Linked DNA regions of Homo sapiens: all the other regions are linked to region 3. Evidence: promoter capture Hi-C in 16 types of primary human blood cells and fetal thymus (Javierre and others, 2016). All regions are on one chromosome and are shown on one strand. Each heading gives the region's core, a stretch centred on a gene start or on the middle of the fragment in contact. The rest is flanking DNA. Distances are from core to core; before and after follow the strand shown.

The links. Contacts are between HindIII fragments. The CHiCAGO score rates a contact against its expected background, and 5 or more counts as called.
Region 1: a fragment that was not itself captured here is called in contact with the fragment with the promoter of LDLRAD4 in region 3 in 4 of 17 cell types (endothelial precursors, activated CD4 T cells, naive CD4 T cells and 1 more); the score reaches 7.4 in endothelial precursors.
Region 2: a contact is called between a fragment that was not itself captured here and the fragment with the promoter of LDLRAD4 in region 3, in 1 of 17 cell types (fetal thymus). The highest score is 7.9, in fetal thymus.
Region 4: a fragment that was not itself captured here is called in contact with the fragment with the promoter of LDLRAD4 in region 3 in 3 of 17 cell types (naive CD4 T cells, erythroblasts and activated CD4 T cells); the score reaches 7.2 in naive CD4 T cells.
Region 5: a contact is called between a fragment that was not itself captured here and the fragment with the promoter of LDLRAD4 in region 3, in 7 of 17 cell types (naive CD4 T cells, non-activated CD4 T cells, activated CD4 T cells and 4 more). The highest score is 20.7, in naive CD4 T cells.
Region 6: the fragment with the promoter of MC5R here is called in contact with the fragment with the promoter of LDLRAD4 in region 3 in 1 of 17 cell types (naive CD4 T cells); the score reaches 5.1 in naive CD4 T cells.

The regions. Positions count from the first base shown.
Region 1 is chr18:13,779,779-13,782,478 of GRCh38, forward strand. No RefSeq gene overlaps it. Among named protein-coding and RNA genes, the nearest start is that of MC5R, 43 kb to the right of the region's middle. The HindIII fragment of the contact is 803 bases long and covers 934-1,736 here.
Region 2 is chr18:12,698,771-12,701,470 of GRCh38, forward strand. It overlaps CEP76 (centrosomal protein 76), which reads right to left. Exons shown (of 12, transcript NM_024899.4): 2 at 2,188-2,343; 3 at 1,060-1,135; 4 at 209-433. It also overlaps a transcript of PSMG2 not described here. Among named protein-coding and RNA genes, the nearest start is that of CEP76, 2.6 kb to the right of the region's middle. The HindIII fragment of the contact is 2,094 bases long and covers 378-2,471 here.
Region 3 is chr18:13,217,510-13,220,209 of GRCh38, forward strand. LDLRAD4 (low density lipoprotein receptor class A domain containing 4) reads left to right here and starts at 1,251. Exons shown (of 7, transcript NM_001378100.1): 1 at 1,251-1,479. RefSeq lists a silencer at 42-411. The HindIII fragment of the contact is 2,786 bases long and covers 1-1,421 here.
Region 4 is chr18:13,763,639-13,766,338 of GRCh38, forward strand. It overlaps RNMT (RNA guanine-7 methyltransferase), which reads left to right. Exons shown (of 12, transcript NM_003799.3): 12 at 1-918. Among named protein-coding and RNA genes, the nearest start is that of RNMT, 38 kb to the left of the region's middle. The HindIII fragment of the contact is 4,622 bases long and covers 1-2,700 here.
Region 5 is chr18:13,746,736-13,749,435 of GRCh38, forward strand. All of the region lies in intron 9 of RNMT (RNA guanine-7 methyltransferase), which reads left to right. Among named protein-coding and RNA genes, the nearest start is that of RNMT, 21 kb to the left of the region's middle. The HindIII fragment of the contact is 2,304 bases long and covers 234-2,537 here.
Region 6 is chr18:13,822,668-13,825,416 of GRCh38, forward strand. MC5R (melanocortin 5 receptor) reads left to right here and starts at 1,482. Exons shown (of 2, transcript NM_005913.3): 1 at 1,482-1,607. RefSeq lists silencers at 1,151-1,331, 1,297-1,586, 1,597-1,686. The HindIII fragment of the contact is 16,860 bases long and covers 1-2,749 here.

The DNA.
Region 1 (2,700 bases), core at 85-2,584, 560 kb after region 3:
AATCCCAGGTACTCAGGAGTCTGAGGCAGGAGAATTGCTTGAACTGGGGAGGTGGAGGTTGCAGTGAGCCAAGATTGCACCACTGCACTCCAGCTGTGGGCAACAGAGCAAGACTCCATCTTGGGAAAAAGAAAAAAAGAAAGAAAGAAAGAGAGAAAGGAAGGAAGGAAGGGAGGGAGGGAGGGAGGGAAGAAAGAAAGAAAATAGGTTTGATTGTTGGAGAAGATCTCAAGAGGTAGCATTTGAGCTCAGACCCGAATAATCATATAAGGCAAGAATGCCCCAGTCTAGGAGAATAGCAAATGCAAAAGCTTAAGTCAAGAATAAGACTGCAATTTCAGAAAATGAGAGTAAGTTATTTGAGTTAATTGAGTAAAGTGATGAGTGTTATATAATGGATGCATAGAGATAGGCAGGGACCAGGTAATGTAAGACCCTGTAGGTGGTGGAAAAAGTCTGGATATTTTTCTGAAGTCAATGGAAAGCCACAAGGGGTTTATGAGATATGAATGTAATCATCCATTCTATGTTTTTGGTAACCAAAGCAGCAGGATATTGGTATAAAAATAGATACATTGACCAATGGATCAGAATGGAGAACTGAGAAATAAAGCCACATATTTACAGCCAACTCATCTTCAACAAAGCCAACAAGAACTTACATTGGGGAAAGGGCACCCTCTTCAATACGGTGCTGAGAAAATTGGAGAGCCAGTTGCAGAAGAATGGCGCTGGACCCTTATCTCTCATCATATACAAAAGTCAGCTCAAGATGGATTAAAAACTTAAATGTAATAACTGGAACTTTAAAAATACTAAAACCTAGGAAAAACTCTTTTGGACATTGGTCTACGCAAAGAATTTATGACTAAGACCTCAAAAGCACAGGCAACAAAAACAAAAATAGACAAATGGGACTTAATTAAACTAAAAAGCTTCTGCACACAAAAAGAAATAACAGAGTAAGAGACAATTTGTTGAATGGGAGAAAATATTTGCAAACTGTTCATTCAACAGAATACTAATATCCAGAATATACAAGAAACTCAACAGGAATTCCATTAAAAAGTGGGCAGAGGGGCCGGGTGCGGTGGCTTATGCCTGTAATCCCAGCACTTTGGGAGGCTGAGGCGGGTGGATCACGAGGTCAGGAGATCGAGACCATTCTGGCTAACATGGTGAAGCCCCATCTGTACTAAAAATACAAAAAATTAGCCGGGCTTGGTGGCGGGCACCTGTAGTCCCAGCTACTCAGGAGGCTGAGGCAGGAGAATCGCTTGAACCCAGGAGGCAGAGGTTGCAGTGACCTCAGATCATGTCACTGAACTCCAGCCTGGCAACAGAGCAAGACTCCATCTCAAAAAAAAAGTGGGCAAAGGATACGCATAGACATTTCTCAAAAGAAGACATACAACTGGCCACCAGGTATATGAACAAATGCTCAACATCACTATCAAAGAAATTCAAATGTCAATAAATTTTAAAGTATTAAAATCATATACAATATTTTTCTACCACAACAGAAATTTATAAAAGAAGAAAATTTGGGAAATCCACAAATATTTGGAAATTAATACACTTTTATTTTCATGGACCAAGAGAGAAATCACAAAATATATTAAGTGGAATGGAAAAAACACATCAAGACACATGGGATGCAATGATAGCAGTACTTAGAGGGAAATTTATAGCTACAAATACATATTAGAAAATACGGATGTCACATCAATAAACTAAGCTTTCACTCAGTAACTGGGAAAAAAAACTAAACTCAAGACAAGAAGAAAGAAGCAAATAATAAAGATTAGAGTGAAAAATCAATGAAATAGATAACAGAGAAGCAATAGAGAAAGTTGGTGAAATTAAAAATTAGTTTTTTAAAAAATTCAACAAAACTGACAGATCTTTAGCTAGACTGATCAAGAAAAAAAGACAAATTAGTAAAATGAGAAATGAGAGGACTTCACTATCAAATTTATAAAAATTAAGGGACTATAGTGGAATAACATGAACATATTTAGGTCAACAAATTGGACAACTTAGATGGAATAGACTAATTTCTCCAAAGATAAAAATACACTCAAAATACTAAAAATGACTCAAGAAGAATGAGAAAATCTGACTAGTAAAAAAAGGTAATCAGTGCCTTAAAATCTCACCAAAAAAGCCCAGGCCCAGATGGTTTCACTGGTGATTTCTCTCACATTTAGAGAAATAATACTAACCCTTTATAAACTCTTCCAGAATAGAAAGGAGAAGGGAACAATTCCCATCTCATTCTATGAAGATAGTATTTGCATATCAGAGGCAAAAAAAGGGCATTATTTTTTAAAAACCTACGGACAAATATTTCTTACAAATGTAGATGCACAGATCCTCAACAAATCACTAACAAGCAGAATGCGGCAGCATATACAAAGAATTGTACACCATGATCAAGTGGAATTTATTCCATAGTGCAAAGGTGACTTAATATCTGAAAAGTAATATATTGCACTGTACTAATAGAATGAAAGATAAAACCACATAATCATCTCAATAGATGAAGCATTTTTACAAAATCCAACATCCCTTCATGATGACACTCAGTAAAACTGGAATAGAAGGGAGCCTCTTTAATCTGATAAAAGCATCTACAAAAACCTACAGCTAACATTATAACTAAAGATAAAAGAAAATAAGAAACGAGGCAAGGATGCT
Region 2 (2,700 bases), core at 175-2,674, 520 kb before region 3:
TCAAAAAATAATATCCAGGGAAAATGAATAGCAAACAGAATATTGCAAGAAGGTGGATAGTAGTTTAAATTGAAAAGAGCAGTGGGAAACAAAATAGAGATTCCTCCATTATAAATCTCTCCTTACAGAAAAAGTCATTATTATTGTTTCACAATAAAACATAACAAAGATTTACTCAATTAAATGACAATTTATTACTGTTTCTTACCCAAGCTTTCTCTGTGTACTTCAAGTAAAAAGCCATCATGAAAATCTGGTTCACAGGCACATGGAACAGGTTTAGAACGAAAACGTTGGTTTCGATAATGTAAACATAAAGTAAACGTTGAACAAACTTGTCCAGGTAAAGGCTCAGGTTCTTGCAGATGTTCCAAGAAAGCTTTTCCACCCAAAACCTGAAGGTAAAGATACCTCCGTGTTGGATCAATATTAGCTGTAAAGTGTAGCAATATATATGAGGAAACTGCCAAATAACTTAAAAGAATGTGATCAAGACATTAGGAAATAAAAACTTGACAGATAAAAACCCAATACCAAAGACTAAAAAAAAAGCAAAAGAGTAACAAATTTATTACTGTATATGCCAGAATCATTTGCACTCTGGGGAGAAGATACACAAAATATGATATTCTTTTCTGAGTTTACATCCAGGCTACTTTCTCCCAGCTGGAAAAGGCATCAGAGCCAATATGTAGTATACTTTTGCTTTTTAACTGCTTATCCAACATTCCTCCACCTTCACAAACCAACTCATATAATTATCAATTCAGCAAGTGTATTTGTCAATTATATTAATATTTAAAAGCAAGGCTGTACAGTTTTTATAAAACATATTATTAAAACACAAGAAACTGGTGATGCTGTTTTTGCTTCTACCGTGCTATACATTAACTCTTCTGATATACTTCATGCAAAACAATCTGTTTTAGCCAACCATAAAATTTTAAGTATTTTATTTTGGGGGGAAAAAATGGAAATGTCTTCTATCAAATACGAAAGACTACACCACATCAATATTTACTATTAACCACAACTAAATTAATGTTAAAATATACATACTTTTTTTTAATGTCGATTGTCTATCAAAACAAATAGGTTGTTTTGGAGAGGAAGGGAGTTCTTGCTCAACACTGTCCTAGAAAGGCAGGAAAAAAAAATCAAAACAAATTAGAAAACAATTATAGGTTAAGGAAATGTCAATAAACATGACTAAGCACTGAACCTAAAGTCAACAGGGTAAGGCCCTTTCAAAGAACCCCTTATTTTCCTAGCCTAATTAAAATAATGAAAATAAAAGCCTGCATAAAAGATGATGTAAACTGATCACTCCTAAAATCAAATGCTAAGGAATTAAACTGTCTTCAAGTAATACTATCCACATAAAGCTAAAAACAAATCCTTAATACCTTCAACAAGGTTAAACTTTCTGTAAACCTTATGTAACAGTTGGCTTATAATTCCACTATGAGCTGATTTTAATAAAGTGTCATCACAGAGTAGAAGCTGTTATTAGGTCAATTTTTATAACAAACGGGTTCATAAACTTCAAAAACCAAAAAAAGGTGCTGTATTAAAATACTTATTCCCTATTGTATTATGAAGTCCATCCAATTTTCACATTATATTACCCAGGTATTGAGGTCACAGTTTCCATTATTGCCTCACTTTCAAATGAAGGCCTACTTACTAATTGTGCACTGAGAGACTATCATCCCATTATTGACCTATTTGTATTAAAAGATTTGAGGACTCTTATGCAGTCAATTATTTTCTTAAAGAAATTTGTAATTTGTTAATCATAGAGAATATAATCCCAAAAGAGTGCTTATTTTAAAAATACGCTTAATCTAAAAAAGTTACAGATCATAATGAAAAAGAACTTTGTTATGGTGAACTAATTGGACTAAAGTATGTATATTCAAATTTACAGACCTAGAAAATAAGAGAAAATTCTGTCACTGTAGAGACAGGAATAAGATATCTAACACAAATTTCATTGATACACAAAACTATTCAGTATATTCAAGGGCAGAGCTAGCCTATACTTGAAACAAGGACACTAGTAAACAGAATGACCTTGAAGTGGTTTTACTAAAACGAAAGGCCCCACATCGGAACCTTATAAGTAGTGTTACGCATTAGTATATACATATATACTCTCATTTATTTCCCTAAAAGATTACTCACAGTAACAAAATTAAGTTCTTTCATCACATCGTCAATGATTCCTCGACGTCTAAGGGCTTTGATCAAATCTTCTGTTGATAAATGCTGTTGATCAGGTGCCAATTCTTCCCGTATAGTCTCAGCAAGGATTTCTCTTATTCTACCATGGACATCCATCTATGTAGAAAACTCATATTACAATTTATAACATCACAAAGCAGTCAAATACTGCTTCTGAAGTTTTAAGGTTCTCCAGCTAACAGTAAATGCACAATTGTTACCACAATTGAATGGGAACAAAGGTAAGCTTTTAAAGAATGAATCTTTTGAGTACAAATTCTAGAAATAGTCTCCACTGGTTATCTGGCACCTTTGTTACCATTTCTCCACAAACAACACTCAACCAAAAGGAATCTTCTGAGAGGGAGTATAGTATAATCAGAAGAACACGGACTGGGAGTAGGCAGATCAAAGTATGATCTTATTACTTTCATACTTTGATCTGCCTAATGATAAGGGAATCTTACCAGCTTT
Region 3 (2,700 bases), core at 1-2,500:
CCACGGCGGCCCCGGTACCCGCGGCCTGGCCGCGCGCCGGGTCCCCACCGCGGAGTGGGAAGGAGGAGGAGAGACTGGAGGAGTTGGAGACAGACACAGCCGCGGCGCGCAGTCACGGCTGGAGACAGACGGCGGCGACGGCGGCGGGAGGCGGGACACTCCCCCCTCCGGCGACTGGAGGCGGGACACCTCCCCGGCGGCCGCAGCGCCGCGTCCCCTCTCTCCCCGCGCTGAGGCTGCGGACCGGGCCCGGCGGGATTAGCAGGCGAGTGCGTTGGCCCTGCCCGCTCCGCGCGCCGCCGCGGCCGGCCGGGGATCCCCTGCAAGCCACTGAGCCGCTGCCGCCGCTGCAGCCAGACAGGCTGCGGGTGCCTGGGAAAGTGGAAGCAGGGCGGGGAGCGCGGGGGAGGCCCGGGGGTGAGGTCCTCAGCTCTTAAAGAACCCCGGCGCGCCGCGCTCCCCGCCGGCCCGCCGCGCGCCCCCTGCCGCGCCCCGCACAGCGCCCCTCCCCCTGGCCAGCAGGGCCGGTGGCCGCGGAGCCGCACTGCGGGCAGTCCCCGCCTCCGCTCCGGGGGGGCGGCCCAGGTGAGTGCGGACCCGAGGTGGCCGCAGTGGTCGGGGCTTCTGGCCCAAGTTCACCGCTGCGCTCCGGAGGGAGGGGTGGCGGGGGACTCGGGAACCGGACGCTTTGGGAACTGGACGTCCGCGAGCCTGCGCCGTCGGCTGGGGCCGGAGGGAGAAGCTGGGCGCCGAGCGCGCGAGGTCTGTGAGGCTTGGTCCGGGTGGGCTTGCCGGTGGGCACGGCGGGGATCCGGGGCTGGCCCGCGGGCGGGGTTACGCCGGTGGAGGGACTTCGCCGACCCCCACCCCGTTTTCTGTTTCCTGGTGCCCTGGGGCGCAGGGTGTCCCGCGGTTGCAAGACTGAATTCTGCACCGCCCGGAGGCCAGGATGGGCGCGCGGATGGCAGCCCCAACTGTCTCCGCGCCCCTAGGCCTCGGCGAGCCGTGGCGGGCAGGGACTGGAGGTCAGCGGGAAGCGGGAAGATCCTGCAGGACCTGACCGGGGAGTTTGCGGGAAGGAGGGGGCGGGCCAAGCCCCGCAGCCCCTCAGTCCCGCATCCTGCACCGCGCGCTCCCCGGCCCCGGCCCCTCGGGCCCGCTTCACCCGGCGTCCCCCCGGGTCCCCCCGCGCGCGTTGACGTCGGTCGCGGGACCGCCCGGAGCTCCCGGCATTGGCTGGGAAGTCGATTGTCTGGGGCTGCTGCTGTTGCACTTAGGCTGGGTCTCCGAGCCCCGGAGGAAGCAGGCGTGTGTTGAATTTCTCTCTGCCCCTCACCTTGGAATAAACAGGAAGCGACAAGCACCCAGCCCGGCCCGGCACTTGCCTTTGTGAAGGGGTCTGCCCTGCACAGCCTTTAGGAAGCTTCCTCGGGACCCCTTCCCGGTGCGCCGCCCCGGGTGGGCCTGGGGGCGCGCCCTGTGAGTACACCGGTGGAAGACAGTGGGTTCGGTTTAGGTTAAATCGCTATCGTGGCGGAGAGGGCATTTGCTTGTTTAAACTTTTTTTTTTTTTTTTTTAATTGGAAAAGGAGAAGGTTTCCCGATGAGGCAGAGGTTTTCAGGACGACAGGGACGCATGGTGGGTGGGCGGCACTGGGGGAAGGCGCATCCGAGAGTACAGCGTTCTTGGGTCACCTACCTGGAGGGACACCTCGTCGCCAGTCAGGGCAGCTAGAAGCTCTTTAAAGCAAGCAGGACTCCTTAGCTCTGCCCAGGCACAGGAATGGTTGCTGTGTGCCCATAGCCGCATGAACTAGCATGATTTTTGTTTTTCCCCCAAAATTTTTTAATTAGCTAGAATTAGATAATTTTGATTTGCTTCTTTTCTTTTCCTCTGTGTCTTGGTCTATTCCCTTCTCTTTTTCTCTTTTCTAATTATTTTGGCATCTTCTCATCCCCGGACCAGCGCTGCTTTCTAAATGTTAATTACCATTGCAATACATATTTATTGAGGGCCTACTATGTGTTAGGCATTGTAGGATGTGAGGTAAGAGTAGCTGCACAGAATGTGGGTTCTGAGCGCTAGTATTAGTAAGTTATTTGCAGTAGAGGTGGATAGAGATGGTGAGCAGCATTGACTCTCAAAAATAGGGTCCTATGGCTGGTAAGGAGGTTGGTGCCTTCTCGAAGGGCTAGTGCTGGGAAGCTTCCTTTTAAAAACGGCCCTTTCTGCCGGTTTGGCTAGCCAAGAATGGCATCCTCCTCTCTGTATCTTCCCTGGAGCTTCAGGACTGAGTATTGAATGACAGAGAAGGTTCTGCAAAGTCTGCACAGGGAGACTGCCATTGCATCAAGTCATGTCTGCATTCTGTATATGGTATTGTCTTTTCTAGTCTTTAACTCGAGTGTGTTGTCATCTGTAACTCTCCCTTTGTACTCTGCACAATTCTTCTGGAATATAGTCTTTGTGTTCAGTCAAGGATCAGAGTGTCAAATCTGAGTCATTACATAGACAAATGAGGATGTCTGAGTATTACCCATGTATATTTATTGAATTATATTTGGTTTCCCATCAACCCTTGAAATGTTATTTGATGGACCTTTCTAAGCAGTGCTTTTTAAAACAGGGGGCTAACTTCCTTATGATCTTTGAAAGCTTAATTCTTTTTAAGAGCTTCATTTTGCTATTGACATTGAACA
Region 4 (2,700 bases), core at 151-2,650, 550 kb after region 3:
TAACATCTCAGCACCGTTATTCCCATTTTAATGATGAGGAAACTGAGTCATAGAGGATACAGACTTGCCCAAAGGAGAGCCAGGATTTTCACACCCCCTCCTCAAGCTGGGCCTGCCCTCCAAGTGCTTGTTATATACCTCCACGGGTGTCAGCCCAGATGACTCCTCACCCATCCACCACCTGCAGCTTGAGATGTTAACTATTAGAGCTCCATTCTTTTGGTTCAAAACGTTGATACTTACTTAGATGTTCCCTGAGAGGAGTGTTTATTTCTGAGTAAGGGGCTTTGTTGAAAGAGGGGGTTAGAGAGAGCAAGACAGCACTTGAGTGCACTGGCAGGAAGCAGAGATAAGACTTGAATTTCAGTTTGGTAGACCACCTTCTTTAGCAGCCCAACCTGTAGCAAATCTAGTTTAGCCTGCATGGCAGGGAGAGGGATTCTCTTCCCACCCTCACCATTTGCAAGTGGCAGGAGCTGAGAATGCCAGTACGAGAGTGTAGCCAAAGTGAGAGGCTGAGAGCAAAGGAGACATTTTTTTCAGTTTTGAGTCGAGTATCCAGACAGAGGCAAATCATTTTGTTTAACTTTTTATTAAAGTGTAACTATAGAAACACATCAATGATTTTTCACAAGTGGAGCACGTGCATACAATCGGCACCCCAGAAGCCCCCCGTCAGATTCCCTTCCAGTTAACTACCTCTCCAAGGGAAACCACTATCCTGAGTTCTAAGCGCATAGATTAGTTCTGTCTGGTTTGGGGAGATATATAAATGGAATTATGCATTCTTCGTATCTGGTTTCTTTTCACCAATATTATGTTTGTGAGATTTTTGTTGCATGTATTTGTACATGGATTTTCATTCTCATGGTTGTATAATATTTCATTGTGTGAATAAACCACATACTGTTTATCTGACAGCTGTTTGGTTCATTTACCATTTGGAAACTAGTACTGATCCAGATATTCTAGTACATGAATTTTGGTGCACATAGGTACATACTTCTGCTTAGGAATGTGCTACAATTTGAATGTTTGTCCTTCTAGATCTTATGTTGAAATTTGATCCCCAGTGTTGGAGGTAGGGCCTAATGGGAGGTGTTTGGGTCGGGGGGCGGGTCCCTGATGGATAGATTAATGCCTTGCGGTGGTGGGAGTGTGAGTTCTTGCTCAGTTAGTTCCCAAGGACAAGTTAATTGTTGTTGCCGATTAACAACAATGACACCTGGTTGTTTAAAAGAGCCTGGCACTTCCCCCATTTTTTGCTTTCTCTCGCCATGTGATCTCTACAACCAGCTCTCCTTTGCCTTCCACCATGAGTGGAGGCAGCCTGAGGCCCTCATCAGAAGCAAATGTTGCAGGATCTCACTGGGCCTTTGTCTTCTATGCCTACATGTCCACTGCTCGGTTACTCTCTACTGCTCCTTTGCCTTTGCTCTGTCACCCTGTTACCTGCAAGTGTTGGGAGATGTGTAGGGAAGATACCAGTACACTCCAGAACCAGGAAGTGGAAACAGGAATACCAGAACATTGAAGATCAGTACAATAATGCTTGGAGAAATCTAAGAGAGTTGGGGAGGGAGCTAAGATGGCTGACTAGATGGGGCCAGGAAGAGCATCTCTCACCAAGAGACCAGACCATCAAGAAAACTGGCACACTCTGAGCAGACCTTTGGAAGGAAGGTGTTGAGAGTGGACAGAGGGAAAATACAGACACTGGGCTCAAGGGGAAGGAAGCTGGGAACCCTGCCCAGGGCAGGTGAGCACTAGGATTTGTTCCTGGTCCCCAGTGGCTCCTGGGTAAGGGGTGAGTTAAATAGGCGAGTGACCCACTCTCACCATGGACCTCCAGAATCCTAACTGCAGGAAACCCCACAACCCCTACGGACATTTAAGCTGACGGAGAGTTGTTCGGAGCAGTGGCGGGGAAAGGACTCCAGCCTTTGCAGAACCCAGAGGGTTTGGCACGGGAATGGCTACAGCAGAGTGCAACCAAGGACACCCATCCCCTAGGGCTCACCACACTCCTCTGGGTGACTTTGGCTTTGTCAACTGTCAGACCTGGACAGAGCAGGGTGGTCTTGCCCTTGGGACAAGGCCAGTCTACCTGAGTGCCCCTGCTCCTCTAATCTGCTGACCTCTCTGGGGGTCCCTTCCTGGCCATGCCCATTTGCAGTGCAGCCACAGATGCCCAATCAGGGTGCTCCCCAGTGGCGGCCAACAAAGCTCCTTTACAGGCCAACCATACCTAACTGCTAGAGAGCTCCAGCAGACTGGCCTCTACCGGTGGGCACCCACACACCCACAGCCTCCTCCCACCACAACCTCCCTGCACCATTTGCCGGCATCCATGGGTGGTCTCACTATCCTGCTCCCACCAGTACCTGACCTCTGCTGACACACGCACACCCCACTGCACTGCCAGTTACACCACAGTCAAACCCTCAAGGGCATCAAAGAAGATAAAAGCAGGCTGGGCACAGTGGCTTACACCTATAATCCCAGCACTTTGGGAGGCCAAGGTGGGCGGATCACAAGATCAGGAGTTCGAGACCAGCCTGACCAACATGGTGAAACCCCATCTCTACTAAAAACACAAAAGTTAGCTGGGCATGGTGACGCATGCCTGTAATCCTAGCTACTCAGGAGGCTGAGGCAGGAGAATCTCTTGAACCTGGGAGGTGGAGGTTGCAGTGAGCT
Region 5 (2,700 bases), core at 136-2,635, 530 kb after region 3:
CATTGCCAAATGTCCCCTGGTGGACAAAATTGCCCCAAGTTGAGAACCAGTTCTTTACAACAGTGCCTTTTGGTTACGACAGTAATTTAGAACCTTCCTGGCCAGTGTCCAGACAAGCTCAAACCATACATAATTTTATTGCATGGTAATTCTTTAGCAGGGTTCCAGTCTTTTAGACTGTGTTGTTGCTGAGACCTCTCCTGTCCTAATGCAGCAGTGAAGGTATCTATATAAGCTTCAATTACACAGCCATTGATTGTTTTTCCTTTTTCTCCTTACCAGACAATGTTTGGTTGGACAGACCTAAAATATTCAGTGAGCATTTTTATTATTGATCAGTAGAATCATATTCATCAAATGGACATTAAACTTCCTTAGAGAGTTTATTCAGTTTAAGTACTTTAAGCATACTCTGACTTCTTTATCCTTATAATTACCTCCATGAAGTAGGCAGAATGGTAACTTTTCACTAATTTTTTTCCTATTTTTTTTTTTTTGTTGTTAATGACAGGATCTCGCTCTGTTGCCCAGGCTGGAGTGCAGTGATGTGATCACAGCTCACTGAGGCCTTCACCTTCTGGAAGGTGATCCTCCCACCTGAGCCTCCTGAGTAACTGACTACAAGCGTGTGTCACCACACCTGTCTCAGTTTTAAACTTTTTGTGCTGATGAAGTTTTGCTGTGTTGCGCAGGCTGGTCTCAAACTCCTGGCCTCATCAAGCAATCCTCCCGCCTTGGCCTCCCAAAGTACTGGGATTACAGGTGTGAGCCACTGCACCTGGCCAGTTTTCACATTTTTTTAGTGGGCAGCCTGAGGCTCAGAGGATAATGACTTGCTCAAGGCATACTAACCTTTAGATTTTCTTCAGTTTTTGTAGATGATACTCAAACAGAAGTCTCCTGTTGAAGTTGCACCTGCACCCAGCCACTCCCACAATGTTGAGTGGGAGGACTTTTTATAAATTCTAAATTGTCTTTTAAGAGACATAATCAGTAAAATTTCATATTCCTCATTAGTTATATTTCCTATACTTTAGATCTAAGAATGTTTTTATTGGCTTTATATTAGGAATGGATGCTTGTTTTGTTTGTCTTAAGGAAGAGGAGAAAACTAGCAAAACTATGTGTGGATAAGTCCCCCTGTCCCACATATACAGCATATCTTTAGCATATTGCCTTTATTTGATGGTGCTTTGCATGATAGTGGTCAATTATTTAGCCTTTCTCTTAGCATATGGGTAGTGAATTCACTTGTGTAATGTATGTCAAAATCTACTTAGGTATGGTAGGGTATGGGATAACAAGAATTTTATGGCATGTTATTTCAGTGAATAATGCAGTCCATGATGGGAACTGCAGTATTGAAGCATTCCAAGTGCAGTGAGTATATAAAGGGCCTTTTGGGAAGGAAGAAGATTGGTAGAGGACAGGCAGAGAAACCAGAGTGCACAGGAGATGTTTGAGGAAGTAGTGCTAATGGCCTTCACAGTTCTTCAGCAGTCTTCCTTCTCTCCCAGTACTGCACTTGGGGATATGACCTGTTACCATGGCTGTCTGGGGACAGAAGCAGTAATAGCATGTAGTTTGAAAAATCCTTTGGTTTTCCTACTTCTTGACCAAGTCACTCTGGTGGGCGTGTAAAGGACTTGGAGCAGGAAAGGACATGACCAGATAAGAGTTAGGACACTACTTGGGTGGCATAATGGGGGATGGTTTGGAGGGACTTTGAGACCAGACCAGAGGTGGAAAGAGCAGTCGGATGCCACTGCTTTCGACCAGGTCAGAGGTTTAAATGGATCTGTTTCTTGATATTTGTCCCAAAAAGTCTTTTCCTGAAGCATCCAGCTTTTATCTGGGTTCAGCACTAGAACCAGTACAACTTTTCTGCTTTCCTGGAGCGTTGGAACAGAGAGAAGAAAGAATGAAAAGATGTAGGCCATGGAACTGTAGGTCCTGACACCTGTTTTCTTTTTTTCACCAGCAAACATATTCTAGGGACAGTTCTGGAAAAGTAACTCCTTTTAGAGGAGACACTAAGATATATATGTTTTAATAAGTTTTGGTCCCGGCATGGTGGCTCATGCCTGTAACCCCAGCACTTTGGGAGGCCAAGGCGGGCAGATAACCTGAGGTCAGGAGTTGTAGAGCAGCCTGGCCAACATGGTAAAACCCCGTCTCTACTAAAAATACAAAATTAGCCAGGTGTGGTGGTGCATACTTGTAATCCCAGCTACTCAGGAGGCTGAGGCAGGAGAATCACTTGAACCCGGGAGGTGGAGGTTGCAGTGAGCGAAGATCACGCCACTGCACTCCAGCCTGGGTGACGAAACTGAAACTCCATCTCAAAAAATAAAATCAATTTTAAAAAATAACGATGTTTTACAGCTTTATAATCATGTATTGGTTGGTCTTTCAAAATGATCAGTAGAGAAGAGAAACTGGGTGTCCAGTGATAAGCAGATAATCACATGGAGGATAAGTTGAAGAACAAGTTTACAACAAAATAGTTTGACAGGCATTCAAAAACGAAGTTCTGAAGCTTTGTGATATGGTAAAACTACAATATGTGGAATTAAAGTTCAAAAAAAACTGATTGGTAATCTGTTCTTTCTTAGAGCCCTTTGTTGGGATGTGATACAAAGTAAAGTGGTTTATGCTAATGATACAGCAGTCTCAAATAGCTGAGTACTTCTAAAACAG
Region 6 (2,749 bases), core at 232-2,731, 610 kb after region 3:
GTGTGGTTGATAAAGCCTGGCATGGCATGTGTAGTCCTGGAGGAGGGGTGAGAGCCTTGGGCAAAGAGGGGCGTGGTAGGGCCACAGATGAGGGCTCCCAGGCACTGGGCCTCCTTCCCAAAGAACAATCATCAGGACATCCCAGAGACCACTGTCCAGGAGAAACGGGGTGACAAGCCCTCTTTGAGCTCGGGAGCATTTTAATCAGTGCTCAAGAGGAAGAGAAAAGAAACAAAAAGTGCAACCAGCCAGAAAAACAACCAAGCAGCTACCCACCCAACCACCCATCCACCCACCCACTGACCCAACCAACCACTCCCCCACCCAACCACCTATCCATCCACCCACCGACCCAACCAACCAACCAACCAACCACCCACACAACCACCCATCCACCCAACCCACTGACCCAACCAACCAAACCAAGCAACCACCCACCCAACCACCCATCCACCCACCCACTGACCCAACCAACCTAGCAACCACTCACCCAACCACCCATCCATCCACCCACTGACCCAGCCAACCAACCAACCAACCAACCACCCTCCCAACCACCCATCCACCCACCCACTGACCCAACCAACCAACCAAGCAACCACCCACCCAACGACCCACCCACCCACCCACTGACCCAACCAACCAACCAAGCAACCACCCACCACCCACCCACCCACTGACCCAACCAACCAACCAAGCAACCACCCACCTACCCAACCAACCCCCACTTACCCAATCAACCAACCAAGCAACCATCCACTCACCCAACCAACCACCCACCCACCCAAGCAACCAATCAACGAACCAAGCAACCACCCACCTACCCAACCAACTACCCCCCACCCACCCAAGCAAGCGAGCAAGCGAGCAAGCAACCAAGTAACCATCTACTCACTCAACCAAGCAACCACCCACCTACCCAACCAACCAATCAACCAACCAAGCAACCACCCACCTACCCAACCAACCAATCAACCAACCAAGGAACCACCCACCTACCCAATCAACGAACCCCCCACCCAACCAGCCAAGCAACCAAGTAACCATCCACTCACCTAACCAATCAACCAATCAACCAATCAGGCAACCACCCACCTACCCAACTAACTAACCCGTAACCACCCAACCAACCAAGCAAGCAACCACCTGCTCACCCAACCAACCAATCACCAAACAAGCAACCACCCACCCACCCACTCAACCAACCAACTACCCAACCAAGCAACCACTCACCCAACCAACCATTCAACCGACCGACCGACCGACCGACCGACCCACCGACCCGACCGACCAACCAACCAACCAAGCAACCATCCAACCATTCAAGAGTGTGTTCGGGGGGATTTTCGCTCGGGGCTGACGCGGTTCTCTGGCCGCTGTGCCGTGCTGGGCCACTAGGTGGCAGCGGAGGCCGCCCGGAGCGACAGCCGGCGGTGCGGAGGCGGGCCCGGCGCGGGCAGGCAGGAGGCTTAAAGCCCCGCAGAGCCGCAGCCGCCTAGCTGGGGGAGAGGCCCGTCCGGGGCTGGCTCTGAGCGCCGCACGGCCGTCGGATCCCGGGGACGCCGGGGGCCCGGGCTGAGCGCCGCGGCCCGCGAGGAGGAGCACCGGTAAATAGCCACAACTTTCTATCTCCTTGAGATCCTGAGAATAAATGCAAAATCGCGCTTCCGCTGCATGTGGAAGTGAGCGGGGCGGCAGCTAGCTTGCCCCGTGAGTTTTTAACACAGCTCGATATGATGTTTAGTATAATTGCATAATTTACCGATATATCTGAGCTGGAACTCAGCTGTAACAAATGATTGTAGTTCAATAAATGCTTAGATTACCAATTTTTTCCTTTTTTATTTTTATAGATTTAGGGGGTACAGGTGCTGTTTTGTTATATGGATGTATTGCATAGTGGTGGAGACTGGGCTTTTAGTGTAGCCATCACCCCTATAGTGTACATTGTACCTATTAAGTAATTTGTTGTCCCTCACCCCCTCCCTCCCTCCCAAAGTGATTACAAATATTAATGATGACAGTGATGACAGAAATTCTCTCCAGATGTGATCTGAGTTTGGAGGGCAAAGGGATTTTTGAAAATGAATCATAAGAGAGAAATTTTGCAACAAAGGAGTGTGGTACATTTAAATTGCTGTTTTTTTTTTTAAATACTGTGCTCACGCGGACCTAATAAACTATCAAGCAGACCTCATGGAATTCCACATAATGCAGAAGCGAGGGAAAAATAGGTATTGAGGGAAAAGCAGCACTGTTTTCCTCAATTTTAACACGTATGTGCAGCCTACACTTACAAACTTAAGACAGTAGCTTTTAACATGTGACTTTGCTCAGGGTAACAGACCATTCTGGTTATAGCCTTACTTACAGCTGTGGAGGCTGAATCCTGATGGGTCTAAGAAGTGTCAGGACAAGTGTTAGGGATGCACCTGTCTGTCTGTCTTAAGGGAATACGGGTCTGGGCAGTCTTAAATCGGAGCTCCCTTGAGGAGAATGTCGTGCAGTAGCCTTAGGAATGTGAACATTGGGAGACTGGCTGGGATTTTGTAGGTTATGAGTTGGGGACACTTATGATAGTGAACTTGAGCCCAGGAGAGAAGCCATAAAAAGTGAAACTGTCCTGGGCACTTGGAGGTGAGTGTCTCTCTAGTAAGATGCATGTGAAAGGCTGGGAGCTGAAAGCAAGGAGAGCAGAAGAGGCTGGTGAAGATTCTAATCTGCGTGTCCAGGGGCACTCTTCCAGGTC